2 separate regions of the Homo sapiens genome follow, and region 1 is linked to region 2. Evidence: promoter capture Hi-C in 16 types of primary human blood cells and fetal thymus (Javierre and others, 2016). All regions are on one chromosome and are shown on one strand. The core of a region is centred on a gene start or on the middle of the fragment in contact, and the rest is flanking DNA. Distances in the headings are between cores, read along the strand shown. Region 1 overlaps IDE (insulin degrading enzyme). Region 2 holds the start of IDE (insulin degrading enzyme).

Evidence for each region. Contacts are between HindIII fragments. The CHiCAGO score rates a contact against its expected background, and 5 or more counts as called.
Region 1: a contact is called between a fragment that was not itself captured here and the fragment with the promoter of IDE in region 2, in 1 of 17 cell types (erythroblasts). The highest score is 6.1, in erythroblasts.

What each region holds. Positions count from the first base shown.
Region 1 is chr10:92,503,017-92,507,181 of GRCh38, reverse strand. IDE (insulin degrading enzyme) reads left to right here. Exons shown (of 25, transcript NM_004969.4): 10 at 660-740; 11 at 2,285-2,388. Among named protein-coding and RNA genes, the nearest start is that of IDE, 69 kb to the left of the region's middle. The HindIII fragment of the contact is 1,686 bases long and covers 853-2,538 here.
Region 2 is chr10:92,572,302-92,576,774 of GRCh38, reverse strand. IDE (insulin degrading enzyme) reads left to right here and starts at 2,682. Exons shown (of 25, transcript NM_004969.4): 1 at 2,682-2,853. The coding sequence starts at 2,756. RefSeq lists enhancers at 2,023-2,262, 2,273-2,332 and a silencer at 2,833-3,282. The HindIII fragment of the contact is 22,211 bases long and covers 1-4,048 here.

The DNA of each region.
Region 1 (4,165 bases), core at 446-2,945, 69 kb after region 2:
GCTTTATGTATGATTGTGTTATTAAAAGTGATTTTATTATTGTATGTATGGGAAGAGGCTGGCTTTTTTTTTTGCGTAAAACAAATGGTGTTTGTCTTTCAAATTTTTAAAAGCCTTTTAAAAAAGGGTTTTTAAAAATACGTGCTTTAAAGCCTATCGAGATTCTCAAATGTATTTTAGTATGAGAAACATCCTTTTTAACTAGATAAAAGTTTAAAGGTATAATCTCTGCTTCTGAAAATTATGACAATAACTCCTAATCTGGGTGCTGTTCTCTGAATGAGTCACCAAAATCATCTATGGTGGAATTGTTGGATCTCACAAGGTTCTTTCACACAGTTTTTCTAAATTCTTTGGCTATTAGTTTCAACAACTTAGGCTATCGAGCCATATCCTGTATTTGTTATTTTCATTGAAAGTTGTTTACCTATTTTGCTTTTGGTTTTAAGCCTAGATTGATGGATTAAATTTTATACACATTAAGAAATTTTTAAAATATTCTATACATTTCTAAATCAAGCATAGCCATTTTTTCAGAAAGTGTGATAAAGTTAAATATGGAGTAGAAAGCTTATAGTGCAAGCCAAACACTTAAAAAAAAAAAAAAAGGTTTCTAAATAAGGGTGGCCGTATCTAATTGGATTAACTTTCTATTTTAGGACTTGAATGCTGTTGCTTTTAGGTTTAAAGACAAAGAGAGGCCACGGGGCTATACATCTAAGATTGCAGGAATATTGCATGTAAGTTTGTTGTTATTTTACTGTATACATTGCTGTGTGGAGTATTTCAGCAATCTTGCATATATTTTCAGTAATAAGTGAATGATTACAATTGAAGCTGAGGTATAAAGCTTTCAACTTTGTAGCAACAGGGCAAATGTTGATGTCAGGAGATGTTTAAAATCTTAATTTTCATCATCGTGAAATTTATTTTATGTAATATTTTTATTAAATATGCATTTTGCTTATTGGCTTTAAATATATTTCAGTTCTACAGCATATCAGGTGTTACTTATATGAAAGCTATTGATCATTTACTTTTTTAAAATTTCCATTGCTACCATCCTAGTCTGAGCTATCATCATTTCTTGCTTGGGCTACCATGATAGTCTTTTACCTGCGATCCCTATTTTCCTCTTGGTCCCCATTGTAGTTTATTTTTCCAGGCTCGTGATCTTTTGAAAACTAAAATCTGAATGTTTCACTCCTCTGTTTAAATTCCTTCAGTGGTTTCCCAACAGAGTTGGCATAAAATGCAAAATTTTCCTTGGCCTACAAGGTGATGTGGCCCCAGCCTATCTGGCCATCTTCTATACCACTGTCCAGCCCACCTCTCCCATTTGCATTCCACTCCAACTGTACTGGCTCTCTAATTTTCAAGCATTAAGTTTATTCCTCCCCCATTGCTATTTTCTCTACATGAAACACTGTTCTATCTGATCTTTGCCTGGCTAGGTTCTTATCATTTCAGTCTCCACTCAGAGTTCTTCTCCTCAGACCTTCTCTGACCTCCCAATCTAAAATAATGCCCCTGCCCCTTTTTTTATTGTTTTCATAGCATCTCTCACTAACATTACAATATTTGTTTGTTGTCTGCCTCCCTCCCAATTACAATGTCTGTGTGCTTCTTGGAGGACAAAGGATTTCATGTGTCTTACCTACTTTTGTATCCATAGTGTGTGGAACAGTGTCTGGCACATAGTAGATGTTCATTAAATATTTATTAGATGAATGAATCAGTCAGTGTGTCTCAGTATATTGGAAGTTGCTCTTACCAAAAAGCATCTTCTGCATTGTTTTTCTACACTGGCCAAAAATATAAGCCATTTTTTTTTCCACAGCCGCTTCCTAAATGTTTGTCTAATTTGTTTCATAGAAATTTAGGAGGAAATTCTGTTCATAAAAATGTGTGTACTTTATATTTTAAAAATCCTGTAGGTGTCAGCATTTTAATATCGAATTTTCTTCATTAACAAGTACTCAGTTTTTAACCAGAAACATTCGTGGTTTTCCCCGAAAGAAATGTGATTTTGCTCTCTACAATGGAAGTATGTTTGGGGATTAACAGTATATTTGGCAGAATCATCAAACAATATGAAACTGCTTAACAATGTGGTAGGAAAGAGACAACGATTTAGGGCTACAGAAAATTTTTCCAATGGAGTAAAATTTAACTGAAGAGAGAAAGGGTGTACAGTAATGAATTTAATGTGTTACAGATCTGCTTTAATAAACTATGTAGTAGCTTTGTATATTTTATTTATTTATATTTTCCTTTTTAAAAGTATTATCCCCTAGAAGAGGTGCTCACAGCGGAATATTTACTGGAAGAATTTAGACCTGACTTAATAGAGATGGTTCTCGATAAACTCAGACCAGAAAATGTCCGGTGAGTCACCATACAGATTTTACTATTATACACTAAATTTTCAATAATGATTAGAATCTGAAAAAATTTGAAATTGTGAATAAAATGCTTTTAAACATTTTATCAAGCATTACAAAAGTAGAGAATAGTATAATGAAGCAACACCAAGCTTCAACCATTGATACATGGCCAGTCTTTTTTAATCTATACCCATCCCTCTTCAGTCATCCCCCTTCCACCCTAAATTATTTTGAGGCAATATCTCTAAAAGATGAGGACATTTTTAAAAACAAATATAATTTTATTATCATAAATAAAATAGAATAATAACCTGTCTTAACCTGGCTTTATTCTAACTCAAACGCCCAAAGTATCAGCCCACCTATCTGACTCATATAAGCAAATGAAGGCACCCTCTTTTTCTTAAGCCACAGTAAAGATTACAATCTCAGAATCCTCCTGATTGACCAGTGGTTAACCTGGAAATCAAAAGTCCAAACTCTTATAGTAGCAGAGGTATTCTTGCTAGAGGAAAGTAGTCCTTAAAGTGCTTGTGAGCCACCACATGATATTCCTCCCATAAAACTGAATTTCATCTATGTTTTCTAAAGTCAAATGATAGAGGGAATATAATTGAATGACATGTTTTACATTTTTAATTTTTCTCCTCTGTTAGGGAAGTATTTTTGAAATTCTACTGGCAATTTGGTTATTGAGTAAGTTTTTTGGAACAGTTGTTTTATGAATAAGATCAACAATGTGATAGAACTTTTTGTAAAAAAAAAAAAATCTTTTTGGGCTGGGCGCGGTGGCTCCTGCCTGTAATCCCAGCACTTTGGGAGGCCAGGGCGGGCGGATCAGCTGAGGTCGGGAGTTCGAGACCAGCCTGACCAACATGGAGAAACCCCGTCTCTAATAAAAATACAAAATTAGCCAGGCATGGTGGCATGCATCTGTAATCCCAGCTACTCGGGAGGCTGCAACAGGAGAATCGCTTGAACCCAGGAGGTGGAGGTTGCTGTGAGCCGAGATCATGGCATTGCACTCCAGCCTAGGCAACAAGAGTGAAACTCCGTCTCAAAAAAAAAAAAAAAAGTCTTTTTGACAGAACTATCCTATCAGAATCTTTTCCTAGTTACCATTGTTTGAACTTTTCCAGACATATTATCAAAGCTTCATTAGCGATAATTGCATATATATGACTTGCACTATACTGTTTAGGTTGAGAACAATAATTAATGTCTTCTAATGTTCAGGTGGGCTTGGCCTATCTATTGTCACTCCTAGGTGGTTGGTGGACTCGGGTGACTTTCTTCTAGGAAATACTATTAGCCAGATTTTACCTGACCTCATGCTAGGATTCAGCTAAATATTCTATTTTTTGGGAAGCCAAGGCAGAGGAGGATCACTTGAGACTAGGAGTTTAAGACCAGCCTGAGCAGCATAGTGACACCCTATCTGTATTTAAAAAGTTTTAATGATTTTTTTATATTATGATACAGTGTTTGGATGAGTACAGATAATTATCTAGCTTCAAGAACAATTTTTTATAGAGATAGGGTCTCACTGTGTTGCCCAGGTGGATCTCAAACTCCTGGCCTCAAGCAGTCCGGCTTAGCCCCACAAAGTGCTGGGATTACAGCCGTCGTGAGCCACTGTGCCCAGTCTAGAATTTTCTTTTCTTTTTTCTTACTGAGCCTAGAATTTTTAAATTGGAATAAGATACCATGGTTTTGAGGTTTAAAAAATATATTAAGGGTCAAAATTTAGAAGTCTTTTTCAATGAAAATAACATGTG
Region 2 (4,473 bases), core at 1,433-3,932:
CGTCTCTACTAAAAATACAAAAATTAGCTGGGCATGGTGGCGTGCGCCAGTAGTCCCAGCTACTCTGGAGGCTGAGGCAGGAGAATCACATGAATCCGGGAGGTGGAGGTTGCAGTGAGCCGAGATCGCGCCACTGCACTCCAGCCTGGTGACAGAGCGAGACTCCATCAAAAAAAAAAAAAGAAAGAAAAGAAAAAAAAGTTGTCTAGGTGGTTTACACCTTATACTTGTTTGAGTGAGAGTGGGAAAGATTACACCCTAGACCTTCACATTTCCTACTTTTTCTCATCATTCTGGGGTCTGCCTGAATGTCACTTCCTCAAAGAGGCCTTTCCTGACCACCTGTTCCTTCATATCACTTACTCACTTGATTATTATCTGTTTTTCCCACACAGCTAGAAGGTAATCTCCATCAAGACAGAAACTTTTGTCTTTTTTGTCCACTGCTGTATTCCCAGCACCTTTATAATACCTGGTATCTGTAAGGCATTCAACAAATATTTGTCAAGTCATAAATGAGATGAGCAAATCACAGGTTTTGGAATAAGACAGTCCTGGGTTCAAATTACAACTCCACTCTTTTTGTCCAATTGTTGGCAAGTTACTCAACCTCTCTCTGCCACAGCTTCCTCATCTCTGGTAGGTGAGGAAATATCCATTACAGAGGGTGGTCATGATGACTAATGAAGGAGCCATGTACAATGCCAGACACAGAGTAGACTCTCAAAATTGTTACTTTTCTTTCCATCCACCTCCTCTTTATTGAGATGATAGTTATGAGACTATATTAATATTAATCTTTCTTATCCAGGACATCTACTCCAACCAGAGGGAAATTTATCATGAAGCTAATGAAGTTTAAACTTCAGGGCTGCTCACTTGCACAGGCTCCAAACTGGGAGTTGTAGAGGGAAAGCCAGTTGTTGTCTGGAAGCATTTTTTTTTTTTTTGAGACATAGAGTCTCATTTTGTTGCCCAGGCTGGAGTGCAGTGGCGTGATCTTGGCTCACTGCAACCTCCGCCTCCAGGGTTCAAGTGATTCTCCTGCCTCAGCCTCCTCAGTAGCTGGGATTACAGACGCATGCCACCACGCCTGGCTAATTTTTGTATTTTTAGTAGACACGGGGTTTCACCATTTTGGTCAGGCTGGTCTCGAACTCCTGATCTCGTTATCCGCCCGGCTTGGCCTCCCAAAGTGCTGGGATTACAGGCATGAGCCACCACGCCCGGCCATCTGGAAGCATTTTTATGTAAGCATTTCTAATAAGTAGCCTAAAGAGATCTCAGGAAAAAAAAGGGTACTAATCTCCAAGTCTCGAGTATTTGTTGTGATGTATTTTCTCTCTATAGTAATCTTCTGATTGCTAATTTTGTATTTATAATTTGTATTTTATGTCTCAAAGAGGTCCCCCAAATTGTATATGTTTCAAGCCCTCCAAGTCTGAATCTACCCCAGCCCATTTATAGATTCCATTAATGGAGCATAAATGTATTCAGAAAGGCTGCATTAACACTCTCAGAGGAGCTGCTTCAAGGTGATTGACTACTCTGCATTGGGACTGGTAATTTAAAGGTTCTTAAAACCATGCACTTGCAAACACCACTAGGAGGCTTGCCATAATTTTTACCTGTTTTCATCCAAAGGTTTGCCTTTAGGTGAAACCGCACTGTTAAAAAGATCGTGGGTACGTCTTCGATAAAGCATCAACTTGATTAAGGAACCCTCCTACTGAATTCCCATTTAAAGCAATACTTGGACTAAGGACACCGTTTTTGGCTGCAGTCTTGATCGTCTGTCAATCAGAAACCTAAAAGTACTTAAGCTGGCAAGTCACCATCCCTAATAGCATTCTTCCTTAAAGACTCCCATAAGGTATTATGGAAAGTTAGATTCATAACAACTATTAAGTTGTTCGTGGGTGCAAAGCCCCATAAAGCCACTGGGGAGAAAATTCTTTGTTTAAAAAGTAACCACTGAAGCCGACTGACATTAGTAGTATTCCTAGTACGGAGTACTAACAAGAGTAGTAGTTTCTACTCTGGATTTGAAGCCTTGTTTTGCTGCGGCGCCCGTCCCATCCGCACCTTCCTCTTAAGAGAGCTGCTAACTTCCCCAAGGATGGAAACGTCCCCCTGGGTCCTGGCCTCTCTATCGCTGACCCCTGCGTCTGAATTTCCCCCACGCCGCACTCGAGCCTTGTCTCCAGCGCATCTGTGCCTTCGCGGTCCACGTCCCCACCGCGCTCTAGAGGGAGCCCGCGGGCCGCGCGCCGGCCGCGGATTCATTTTACGTGAGGCCGCCGCGACCACGAACCTTGTTCCAACACCTGCAGGGTCCGGCACGCTAGTCAGTGGGGGTGCCTCAGAAAACATAGCCCCGTGTGCCCTCACTGGATTTATGAGCGGCCCCTCGCCCCCTCACAGTCAGACACACGTCGCCACCCTCACAAGTGCGGCCGGTGGGATCTAGCTGGGACCCTCCCCGCCTGGGAAAGTCTGGGTGCTGGCTCCTAAAGCGCCCCGGCCAAACCCCTGTCCCTCCAGTCCGCCTGCTCAGGCCTCGGCTGTCCGCGGTCTTCACCGTCCTCGCCTGCGTCCTGGCCCCATCCGGCTCCAGGCAAAACCCGGAGCAGCTACCTCTCCGCAGCTCCCGGGAGACCGCGCGGCGCCGCGGCTAGAGCATGCGCAGTGCGCAGGGCCGGCTCGAAGCGCAAGCAGGAAGCGTTTGCGGTGATCCCGGCGACTGCGCTGGCTAATGCGGTACCGGCTAGCGTGGCTTCTGCACCCCGCACTGCCCAGCACCTTCCGCTCAGTCCTCGGCGCCCGCCTGCCGCCTCCGGAGCGCCTGTGTGGGTAAGCGGAATGGAGCGCCCGGGCCCTCGGGCCCCGTGGGTCACAGCGGTTTGGCGCTCGGGTTGCAAAGTGGTGATTCAGCACTTAAAGCCGCCACCGCTGCCCCTCACGCCGCCCGTCCCGCCGGCCTGGGGCCCGTACTGCCGCGCTGAGGCCGCCCCAGGGCCCGGAAGAGCGGCTCGCCAGGCGGGAGCCAGAGGCCTGGTCCAGAGTCGGGGACGTCCCTTGGGCTGGTGAGGGGCCGGGGCCGCTACCCGGGGCCACGGGGCGTGTGCCACTAGTGCGGGGGGCGCAGGGGCGGACAGAGTCACCCGGCCTGCACCTGGGAGCCGCGCCGCGTCACTCTCCCGGAGTCCGCCTGTGAGGGGGCCGGGAACCTGAGGCGGACTCGAGCCGTGGGGTAAAGGAATCCGGCGACTTCGGGGGGACCGCTTCTCACCTTGCCCTCAGCCCTGCCCTTTTCTCCGGGCACTGAGTTTCCAGGACCGTGTGGAATGCCCGCGCTGGGAAAAAAGTTTGCCTGCCTCCCGCCTTGGAAGACGAGTGTGGGGTTTCCTATCGGGGGACATTTAGGAGCCAAAAGATACCTCGGGATCCTCTACAGCAGCTCCCTTGTTTTACGTCGGAGACAACCGGAGCTCCGAGAGATGGCTTGATTTCCCAGCAACTGCCGAGATTGTGGCAAAACCAGGATTAGGACACAGGTTTTTTGCCATCCGGCGGCGTGCCCTCTCCACTGCACCGTTGATCTGCGTACGCTAGGCGTTTTCAGGCTTGTAGTGAACGCTGAATACTTTTTACTACGAATGGAAGAAGATAGGCAGTATTATCTTGCCCTCCCTAGAAACGTTATTTGAACCCCTGCTGGTTTTAATCAGTAATAGCCAGCACCTACTAAGTGCAGGGCACTGTGCTGGACCCTCTATGTAAAGTATGTGTCTGCCTTCCAAGGAACTTTGACTTGATTGGAGCGGATTGGGATGCCACGGGAATTGAGATAGCTACAAGGGTGTGTTGATGAGGGTCAGAAGATGGGTAGTATGGGTAGTGTGTGGGGCCAGAGATGGGGGGGTAGGCTGGCTTTGGAAGGAATGGCAGAAAGGTTGGAGTGAGGGCTGGCGTGGGCGTAATCCAGCCTAGATATGCGGGCAGTTTGTGTTGGGGGAGCAGTGAGCCGATTAGTCTGGTTGAAGCTTTATAGAATTTCCTTGGGGTAATTAGAAGGACACAAGTCCTGTATTATAACAGTAGGGTAATGCTGGCCTGGGTCTTGAATTTTAGTTGGGATTTTCCCAATGCGTAGTAGGTAGGGAGCCATTAAAGTTTTTGAGCTGGAAAGTTATCTGATGGAACTGGGGGTTTAGGAAAGTAGTTTGGTGGCTGTGTGCAGGATGTCAGGAAGTGGAGAGAGTCCTAAGGCAGAGAAACCTGTTGGGACTTAGTCTTTACTGCCTGTATTAGGATGGTAGCAGTGGGGCACTAAGATAAGCTAATACAAATGAAGACTCTATGGAACTTGTTCTCCTCTGTTTTCCACTACATCACAAAATCTCCTATAATGTGCAAAAGACCCCTGAACTTAGAGAATCAGGTGGTAAGCACAGGCAGGATGCCTCCTTT